Linked DNA regions of Homo sapiens: region 1 is linked to region 2. Evidence: promoter capture Hi-C in human tissues and cell types (Jung and others, 2019). All regions are on one chromosome and are shown on one strand. Each heading gives the region's core, a stretch centred on a gene start or on the middle of the fragment in contact. The rest is flanking DNA. Distances are from core to core; before and after follow the strand shown.

The links. The method cuts DNA at HindIII sites, captures the fragments that hold promoters and counts their contacts. A contact is called where the count stands out against the background at its distance.
Region 1: a contact is called between a fragment that was not itself captured here and the fragment with the promoter of CNDP1 in region 2, in 1 of the 25 tissues and cell types used here (heart left ventricle).

Annotation. Positions count from the first base shown.
Region 1 is chr18:74,349,816-74,355,240 of GRCh38, forward strand. C18orf63 (chromosome 18 open reading frame 63) reads left to right here. Exons shown (of 14, transcript NM_001174123.2): 12 at 3,431-4,453; 13 at 4,642-4,731. The coding sequence ends at 4,698. Among named protein-coding and RNA genes, the nearest start is that of C18orf63, 37 kb to the left of the region's middle. The HindIII fragment of the contact is 6,259 bases long and covers 1-4,973 here.
Region 2 is chr18:74,532,909-74,538,378 of GRCh38, forward strand. It overlaps CNDP1 (carnosine dipeptidase 1), which reads left to right and starts at 1,592. Exons shown (of 12, transcript NM_032649.6): 1 at 1,592-1,783. The coding sequence starts at 1,760. The HindIII fragment of the contact is 24,351 bases long and covers 1-5,470 here.

The sequences.
Region 1 (5,425 bases), core at 594-3,093, 180 kb before region 2:
AAATCAAAGGCATTCATAGTTAAGCGTTTCTGCAAAAACAGAAGTGTGGCTAGACCTTACTTCTACTTCCAAATATTTTATGAGTGCATCTGATTGGCTGGTTCTAAATCACATCCAAACCCTAGCTGCAAAAGATGAAATATAAATTTTAGATTTCCAGGCTTTAGTCTGTATAGGAGCACAAGGAGGAGGGTGGAATGGAGGTTGAACACCAGTCCATCCTATCCATTGCAGTCACAGCATAGAGATTGGCTGTGGGGTGTGGGGGTAGGAGGCCTTCACACCTTCACTTCTTGACCTGGGTTGATTTAATGGTGGTGGTCTCTGCTCATATGGTATCTCAACAGAGATAGTATATGAGGTTTTATCAGTTACTTTTTAGCTTTACCCTAGCTCCCTTGTACAGGGAGTCTTCAGAAAAACAGCTCCCTCCTCTCTCTGTTCTCTCCAGAAGTGTATATCCAACCCTGTTACAGGTTGAATTGTGTACCCCTCAGATACATACACTGAAATCCTAACCCCCAGTTCCTTAGGATGTGACCTTATTTGACATAGGGTCACTGCAGATATAGTTAGTTAAAATGAAGTTATACTGTAGTAGGGTGGGCCCTTAATCCAATATGACTAGTGTTCTTATGAAAAGGGGCAATTGGATACAGACACACATAGAGGAAGAACACCATGTGAAGGTGGAGATGGTCATCTACAAGCCGAGGAAACAGGCCCGGAACAGATCCTTTCCTCCTGGCCCTCTGAAGGAACCAGCCCTGCCAACACCTTGGTTTCAGACTTCAAGGCTCTAAAACTGAGATAATATGTTTCTGTTCTAATACAAACCCCTTCTTGATGCATGCTTTTTCACTCAGCTGAGCAATGTCAAGGGGCAGTAAGCCAGTAATTCTTCCTTGGTTAACTTCTGTATTTCTTCATTCAGGGTCATGAAACTTAGCTGGGTTTTCTTTGCACCCCTTGAAAATAATGGGCAAATTAAGAAGGATGTGCTATGCTCTGAATGTGTTTCTCCAAAATTTAAATGTTGAAACCCTAACTCCCAAGGTGATGATATTAGGAGGTAGGGTCTTTGGGAGGTGATTAGGTCATAGGGGTAGAGCTGTGCTAAACAGGATTAGTGCTCTTATTTAAAAGGCCCAAGAGAGATTTGCCTTGATCTTGGACTTCCCAGCCTCCAAAACTGTTGCTTATAAACTACCTACTTTGTTATAGCAGCCAAAAGAAACTAAGACGGTGTGTCTTCTTGCCCTGGTGGCATGGGTAAGCCTCCAACTGAAGTAATCTCCAGATAAGAAATGAATCCCAATCACCTATTTTCAGCATCGCCCCCAAATCTCACTCAATATTTTCTTGGGGACTTTCCGTTTTTCCCAAGAATAGTCAACATGGAAGGAGGAGTATTGTCCTCTATAATGACTTTCTATTATGTCAACTTAAGTATTATGGAACTAAGTTTCCTGGAATTTCCTTCTCCACATCATTTTGGTCATGGGACAATACTCCTCCCATTGAGGTATGGGTCTCGTTCTCTTGAGTCTGGATGTCCCTATGACAGAGTGATGCAACATACCCTGAGGCTAGGTCTTTAGGAGAAACAGCTTCCACCTGGTCTTTCTGGGGACATTTGTTCTTGGAACCCAATCTGTGAGAGATCCCCAGCACAGGAAGAGACTGCCTGTCAGCATTCCAGCCAACAGCCAGCATCACGCATCACATGTGAAAGAGGAAGTGACTCCAAGGTGACTCCAGCTGCAGAGTATCTAACCACACAGCATGAGAGATGCCAAACTAAGCCAAGCCAACCCCCAGAATAGTGAGAGATGATAACATAATTATTATTGGTTTTAAGCAACTAAATGTTGGTGTGATTTGTTTATGCCTAATAGATAATTGGATTAGTCTCTTACTTGTGCCTATTTCCAACTCTGATTTCCCAAAATCTTTCCTATTCTCTTCTCAACCTAATTCAACAATGGAACCTCCAGTAGTGGAGAGAAAAACCAGTCATTCAAGTTTGCATATTATTCCTAGCAGTTTTAAAATGTTTATTTCAAGCTGTGAACCTGTGTTTTGATGGGGAAAGTGAGAAAAGAACTTGGTGTTCAGTGTTTCAGGTTATTGCTACCTATCACTCTTTTACAGACAACAGGACAAGATATGTACTTTAAAAGACAATACTTCCACCAAGAGATGAGTGGATAAAATATGCTATATAAGTACAGTGGAATAGTCAGTCATTAAAAGGAATAAATCCTGACTCATGTTGCAATATAAATGAACCCTGAAAACATTATGCTAAATGAAATAAGCCAGACACAAAAAGACAAATATTGTATGATTCCACTTACATGTGGTACCTAGAATGGGCAAATTCATAGAATAGAAAGTAAAATAGAGGTTACCAGGGGCTAGAAGGAAGAGGAAACAGGAAATTACTATTTACAGAGTACAAAGTTTCTGTTTGGAATGAAAAAAAATTTTTGGAAATAGTATTGATGGTTATATAATACAGTACAGTGGTAAATGTACTTAAAGTCACTGAATCGTTCACTTAAAAATGGTTAAAATGGTAAATTTTATATTATTTATGTGTATGTGTGTGTGTATCCACAGTTCATCTTTAAAAGACTGTAAACGCTTGGCTCTTTTTAATGTATCTGACAAATTTCTTTGACAAATACTTGCTGAATTGCTACCACGTACCAGGCACTGTGGTAGGCAGTGAAAAAGTAAACATGATTAAGACACAGATAGCGCCTTCCCTGTAGTCAAAATCCCACTTATTCCTAAAGGCCCAGTATAGATGCAGCCACCTCTTCATTAATTTCTTTCAACAAGGATTTTTAGTAACTGTGAAGGATATAAGAGTAAATAAGTCATGGTTCTTACCCTCCAAGAATCTGGTACCTACTTAGGAAGATGGAATATGTGCACTAAAAGATAAGAGAGCTTACCTTGTAATATTTTTTTGTGACAAATATTATTTAATTGATAGCAGATCCTTGGAGAGTTGACAGAAAAACAGTCGCTCTGTGGTAGATTGATGGGTGGGAGAAGGTGGGACTTTGAGTATCTGAAGGAGGTCATACCTTGCTCAGTGAGCAAGGCAGCAGCATGAGCATGTTTGGAGGACAGTGGGTAGCTGTGTGAATGGTTTTTATGGTAGATTTATATGAAATGTAGTATATACCTTTATCTTAAGATAGTATCTTGGATAGTATCTAAAGGAGGATACAAACCATAAGAAATGTACTCATTTCCACCAGAAGGCTCATTTTTATTTTGTTTTTCTTTACCTGTTCTGTAAATCATAGTGTTGCTTTATATTCTTATTTGGATGATACTTTATATTTTATTTCTTTTCCATTAAGGACATTATTAACATTTTAAATTTTTTTTTAATCTCTATCCTTTTCAGGAACACAAAGTCAAGCCACCCAATTTGACCACTAAAAAAATGCTTAGGGCATCTCTGACTCAAGCCACTTCCAGAAAGCCTGCCTGTGCTCAAAGTCTTCTACCATGTTCAGTAGCAGTGGACCACAAGGTGGAGCTTTCAGTCAGCCAGCCAACATCAGGCATTTTCTCAGCTTTGCATCTCCAGCCAGAGTCTGTTCAGGGTAGAAAGAAATCCCTGTCTATCAGGGCTCCACAAGTACATTCAGAAGTATTAATGCCCAACAGAGGAAATACTCAAGTTCAGCACACAAATCTTAGCTCCCAAAGCAACATCACCCCTAAGTTTGTACCAGTTTTCAAAAATAGATTGTTACAAATGAACAAAAATACCTCAGTACTTGGCAGCCCAAAAAGAAAACAGCATGATGTGACACAATCTAAATTGTTTTCACTCAAAACTAGTATGATCCAGCATGACAAACTGAATTTAGGTCCAGCTATAAAAAACCGTTATAGTAGTAACATTCAGATGCAGGCTGCTAACAATTTAAATCAGGAGAATTCCAGACCTCTGCAAGAAAAAAATACAGAGTCTTCTGAAAATATGACAAAATTTCCCTCTTCTCGTGGAAAATCGACTGTGAGTTTAAACAAAAATAAGCAACTATCTAATAGTGCAGTATTTGTGGTGTCAAATAACAATTTAGGGGTGGTAAAAAGTGCTGTTGACTTCCAAATGAAAGGAAAAGAAAATTTAACAGGCAAAGGTATAACACAAATTTTAGGGAAAAGCCATGGGTCACTAAAACTGAAAAGACAGCCACACATTTTTGAATCAGATGGAGAAACCGAAGATCCACGACTGCTACAGCAGCAATCAGAAAATCAAGCTAAAGAAGTTGGTACAAGTGACCACAGGTTGATAGTAAGCAAAATAGCCCACAGGTCTAAAAGAAAATTATGTCCAGAGTCTTCCAAAACTTCAAAGAAGCATCATTCCGATACTGTGCACTATGGCCAATCCAGTTCTTCTAAGAAGCAGGTAAAAAAAAAATTAATCTGGCACTACTTATCATATGCTAGACCCTTAAAACCCCTAAATAAGGATTTAAATGATTTCCCTAAGATCATTTAGAACCATACTAATTAATAAACAGAATATCTACCCTAGAGCGACTGTAAGTCTATGCAGTTAATTTGTAACAAATGTGATTCTTCAATCTAATACAGATACTTGACTCGGATAAATCAAAACTTAAGAAATCTCTCATCATTCATAATGCTTAGAACATGGACCTGAAAGAAGGAAATGTCTACCAGGTAACTGAAGTGATAGCTTTTGATTTGTTTTTACATTATCTGAATTGGGATTGCCAAGTTTAGGGGTCCCCAACCTCTTGGTAAAAAGCAGCTACTTTTAAATTCTTTGAAACCGTAAAATCAGCAAAGAAATAGGACATGGTGGGAACAGTTCACTCCTTGAATAAGGACCATACACAGCAGCTGTTTTGTAATGATTTCAAAGAGGGATGGGTGCAAATGGTCCACTGTGGGCTCCCCCTCACTCTGTTCTGGGGATCCTTGCAGACTAGGAAGAGCTCACACAGCAGCAGCAGACTATCTAAAAATAGAAGATTTGAACAGCTACTACAATATCCACTTTTTGGGATACCTACCCAAGATAATAAACCTTAAATGATGTTTCAAAGGTTAATCATTTAGTTAAAATTTACTCCAAAAGTGCTACAGTGCTGGCTATGTTTAAACTTGATACTCAGTTAATAATGCCCAGTTCATGGCACTGAATTTACAACATGATACATCTGGAAATTACATTTTATTTTGTTCTGCCATCTGTTCTATTCTAAGAACAAACATATTACTAAAATACCCACAAGTTATTTTTTTACATAGAACTATTGGAATACTTTCAATTCAGATTCTTTAAGAACCAACTAGAAAACATTTTCTTTTCCAACTGCTATTTCTTCCTATAACTAATAAAATTTTCAGC
Region 2 (5,470 bases), core at 342-2,841:
TCTGCCTTTCCAGAGATTTCTTTGTTGGTAAAAATTATTTGATTATTTGTCCTTTCATTCAGCAAACAGTTAGAGTAAGTCTCCAGTGTGCCAATCCCTGCAAGAGTTATTCAGAGAGAAATGATGCAAAAGAATCCCAGTCCCCCAGAAAAGCCCCGGGACCCCTCAACCCAAGGCTCTGGCCTGTGCCCTGCTGCCTCCTTTTCTCTACTGTCCCCTGACCTTCCCACCAAAATTTATATGTTGACATCCTAACCCCCAAGACCTCAGAATGTGACCTTCTATGGAGATAGGGTCATTGCAGATTGAATTACTTATCTTTAGATAAGGTCACATGGGCATAGGATGGACCCCTGATTACACACAACTGTGTCCTTATGAGAAGGGACAATCTGGACACACACACATACACAGGGAGAACATCATAAGAAGATGAGGGCAGAGATCGGGTGATGCTTGTACAAGACAAGGGACACCAAGGACGGCCAGCAGCCACGCGGGTCAAGGCCTGGAGCACGCCCTTCCCGCTCAGCCTCAGGAGAAACCTGCCCTGCCCATACCTTCATCTCAGACTTCCAGTCTCCAGAATTGAGACCGATTTCTGTTGCTTAAGCCACCCAGTGTAGGGTACTTTTGTTAGAGCAGATGTTGGGGCTCAGAAGCCAATACCCCAAAATATGGTGCTTTGTTCAAGCTGAACTGAAAAGGAACTTCAAGGCCTCTCGGCTCCCCCACCCCCACCATCTCTCCCAGAGTTCCTGAAGTGTCCTTATCTCCTTCAAGTCTGACCCACCAAAGAAGAAAGGAATGACCTCTAGTCCCTTCCCTGAGTTTTCGTTAACTGAACCCATATCTCAGGAAGGAAGGCTGACACCGAACACGCTGGACAGACTTGTCAAGACCATTGTCTGCTCCGGGGCCCAGCAGACTTGAACGAAGACCGTGGCGTGCTCTTCAAGCCCACTGAATCCTCCCTCGTGAGCGCTGATTGCCCTCAGCTGAAGTCCTCTTTTCTCCTCCCATAACCTGTTGCGCGAGAATCTAAGCCGCCACTCCTTGTGGAACCTCAAGAGGGTGTCTCAGCTTCCCAACCCCATTAGGGATTGGTCCTTCCTTCTGAAGGCTCCCATGTCACTTAAAACTAGGAGCAAATCAATCTGTTATGCCTCTTCTCCAATTCAACTGCCCTTTGCAAGCTGATTTTGCAGCGAACCTTCAGAGAGCTGGGAAAACTCTACCCTCGGCCCCTGCACAGCCCTAGGAAGCTAATCCTCGGCCGTAACATTCCATCACAAGGGCCCACAGCCACAGTGTGTGGGGGCCTGTCATGTGAGGGGGCTGTCACCTGAGGGGGCTGTGCCGCTGGCTCAGCTCTGCCTGCTGGCCGGGGCCCTACTCCCTCTCAGAGATGACACACAAGTGCCCCCAAAGAAGAACCCGAGGAGTCGCAGGCTGGGCCAGGCTGCTGGCTTCCAGTGACATCACATGACTTTGGGGCCACTGCCTCATCCCGTATCTGCGCGTATGAGATGCATTGTCTCTTCCTCTGCAGTTGAGCTGAATGAATACCTCCGAAGCCGCTTTGTTCTCCAGATGTGAATAGCTCCACTATACCAGCCTCGTCTTCCTTCCGGGGGACAACGTGGGTCAGGGCACAGAGAGATATTTAATGTCACCCTCTTGGGGCTTTCATGGGACTCCCTCTGCCACATTTTTTGGAGGTTGGGAAAGTTGCTAGAGGCTTCAGAACTCCAGCCTAATGGATCCCAAACTCGGGAGAATGGTGAGTAGGACCTCCTCCATCAGAGTCCGTGCATTGGGTGCCAGAATTCCATTTGTCCCGGGAGCATGTGCGTTAAGCCCAGTTGGGCAGGGCAGGCACCCAGCGTGGCCCCAGATGCTGCTCCTCATGGTGTTCTTAGGTGCTGTCTTGGCCGAGGAATGTGGTATTTGGAATTATATTTTATCAGTAATGCTTTTGGGTAGTTGTGTGTTCTTAACAATAATTAAATGGCATTATTGTCAAGTAGTTCATATTCAAATTGTTCATGAACTCAGTCTTCTTAAATCAATTTTTTTCTGTACTTTTTCTCTTTAAAAAAAATGAGTTTGCTTCCTGGAAGAATTTGCCTAAATAATGGTAACAGACAGTGTGCTGTTTGTCCTGGTCCCAGGTTCCCGACTTAAGGGCTAGTTTGCAAGAGCTAATCACCGGGCTAAATCACCCCAGGCCTTTCTCGGCGAGGTTTCCATGGTTCAGGTGCAAACCTGAGTGTGGGTGTGGCGGGAAGGCTTCTCTCTAGGAAAACAAGCAGGCAGGTACCTTTGGCTGTGAGGTTTTGTGGGGTTGTGTTCCAGACTACTTGGAAAGATAAAATTCATGGACGCTTTTTATTTCCATTGCAAACACACACATACACACACAGAAATTTTCAGAATTTTGTGGAAGGTTGATACGTAGAAGACTCTCAAAAGACATACTGAAACAAATACATGCAAATGCGAGGCTGGAGACACAGTGAGCAGGCAGGTGGTGACCTGACCACAGCCGGATTCTAGAAGTGGGCTTTGCCCACCTGCAAGACCATGAGATTCCCACACCATGCTGCAAAATCACTGCTCTGAGAGAAAGAACCTCACCCTGTGGTCTGGCCATGCTTTCCATTGCTGACTTTTTTTTTTTTTTAAAGAACCCATGACTGGCCAGGGCATTGGGGTGGGGGTTAGAAGAGGACATTTCACTGAATACTGTCTTACTTTAAAAAATCTTTAAACTGTGTCATGATAGTATCTATTCAAAACATTAAAGTTAAAAGCAACATGAAAGAAAATAATTTCCCTGGCTGGGCATGGTGGCTTATGTCTGCAATCCCAACACTTTAGGAGGCCAAAGCAGGAGGATCACCTGAGCCCAGGAGTTCAAGACTGGCCTGGGCAACATAGTGAGACCCTGACTCTACAAACAATTTTAAAAGTAGCCAGGCAGGGTGGAGCATGCCTGTGGTCTCAGCTACTCAGGAGACCAAGGTGGGAGGATGGCTTGAACCTGGGAGGTCGAGGCTGCAGTGAGCCATGGTTGCGCCACTGCACTCCAGCCTGGGAGGCAGAGTAAGACCCTGTCTGAAACAAAAAAGAAGGAAATATTTTGTTTTGGACTCAATATAATACCCTTTGATATGAAAGAGAGGAAGAGATTGTACTATATATTTTCCCCTTTGCTATTCTTTTACTTTTTTTTAACTTTTATTTTTGGTTTAGCAGTACATGTGCAGGTTTCTTACATAGGTAAATTTGTGTCATGGTGATTTGTTGTACAGATTATTTAATCACCCAGGTATTAAGCCTAGTACTCATTAGTTATTTTTGCTGATCCTCTCCCTCCTCCCGTCCTCCACCCATAGGCCCCAGTGTGTGTTGTTCTCCTCTATGTGTCCATGTGTTCTCATCATTTAGCTCCCACTTACAAATGAGAACATGCAGTGTCTGGTTTTCTGTTCCTGCATTAGTTTGCTAAGGATGATGGCCTCCAGCTCCATCCATATTCCTGCAAAGGACATGATCTCATTCTTTTTTATGGCTGCATAGTATTCACCATGGTGTAGATGTACCACATTTTCTTTACCCAGTCTGTCATTGATGGACATTTAGGTTGATTCCATGTCTTTGCTATTGTGAATAGTGCTGCAGTTAACATTCACATTCATGTGTCTTTATAGTAGAATGATTTATATTCCTCTGAGCATATAACCCAGTAATGGGATTATTGGGTCAAACGGTAGTTCTGTTTTTAGCTGTTTGAGGAATTGCCACACTGCTTTCCACAATAATTGAACTAATTTACACTCCTACCAACAACGTATAAGTTTTCCCTTTTCTCTGCAACCTCACTTGCATCTGTTATTTTTTGACTTTTTAATACAGTTGTTTGATGTGAGATGGTATCTCATTGTGGTTTTGATTTGCATTTCTCTAATGATCAGTGATACTGAGCTTTTTTTCATATGCTTGTTGGCCACATGTATATCTTCTTTTGAAAAGTGTCTGTTCATGTCCTTTGCCCAGTTTTTAATGGGATTGTTTGTTTTTTCTTGTAAATTTGTTGAAGTTCCTCGATACTGGATATTAGATCTTGGTCAGATGCATAGTTTGCAAATATTTTCTCCTATTCTGTAGGTTGTCCGTTTACTCTGTTGATAGTTTCTTTTACTGTGCAGAAGCTCTTAAGTTTAATTAGATTCTATTTGTCAATTTTTGCTTTTGTTGCAATTGCTTTTGGTGTCTCTGTCATGAAATCTTTGCCTGTTCCTATGTCCAGGATGGTATTGCCTAGGTTGTCTTCCAGGGTTTTTAGAGTCTGGGGTTTTATGTTTAAGTCCTTAATCCATCTTGAGTTGATTTTTGTATATGATGTAAGGAAGGGGTCCAGTTTCAATCTTCTGCATATGGCTAATGGCTAGCCAGTTATCCGAGCATCATTTATTGAATAGGGAGTCCTTTTCCATTGCTTGTTTTTGTCGCTATTGCTGACTTATTACCATCACCTTTTTCTAATACTGAGAGAGAAAAGAAAGTCATCAATTCTATTCTTGGGATCTTGAGCCCAAGATTGGGCAAACTCTTTCTTTTACTGTGACACAGATCAAATGCCCATCAACAGCTAGGGTGGATCCCTGGCTGTGGCCCAGGGGGACTGGATGAGGTTTGGGGAGCTGGACCACAGGATGCAGAGGGGGCTCTGTGCTGTGGGCACTCACCCTTTGGATGGGGCACATGCAGTGAGCATGTGTGATGTGCCTCCTCTGTGCTCTAGTGCCCAGGCCCAGTCACTCCGGGCAAAGAGTGGTACCTGGGATATGGACTCTGGGACCAGGAAGCTCCTCTGGGGGGAATGAACCAGGTCATATATCACTACACTTTGTCCACACTCCTTGTTTCTTTCCACATAAAGCGGCATTCTTGTTAAAACCATAGAGTAGAACTTCTAGCTGCTGAAGACAAAAGACAAAGTACAATTTAGACGAAGGTGAGAAGTTACCCATCCATGTACAATTTACTGCCTTTTTCACTAAATCCCATACTCAGGTTTTTGTTTTGTTTTGTTTTCTCTCAAACTTTAGTGTGAGCAGTTTTAGGGTAGAGGCCCAGGAATCTGCACTTTCAAGCCATCATTCAGTGGCTTTTAGTATATTCACTGACATGTGCAACCATCACCACCATCAATTTTAGAACATTTTCCTCACCTCAGAAAGAAACCCATACCCTTTAGCTATGACCCTCCTATTCGCCCCTCCCTCACCTTATCCTTAAACAACTACTAACCTGTTTTCTGTCTCTGTAGATTTCCCTATTCTGGACTTTCATATGAATGGTATACAATATGCAGCCTCTTGTGACTGGCTTCTTTCACTTAATGTAATGTTTTCAAGGTCCATTCATGTCATAGCATATATCAGGACTGCATTCCTTTTCA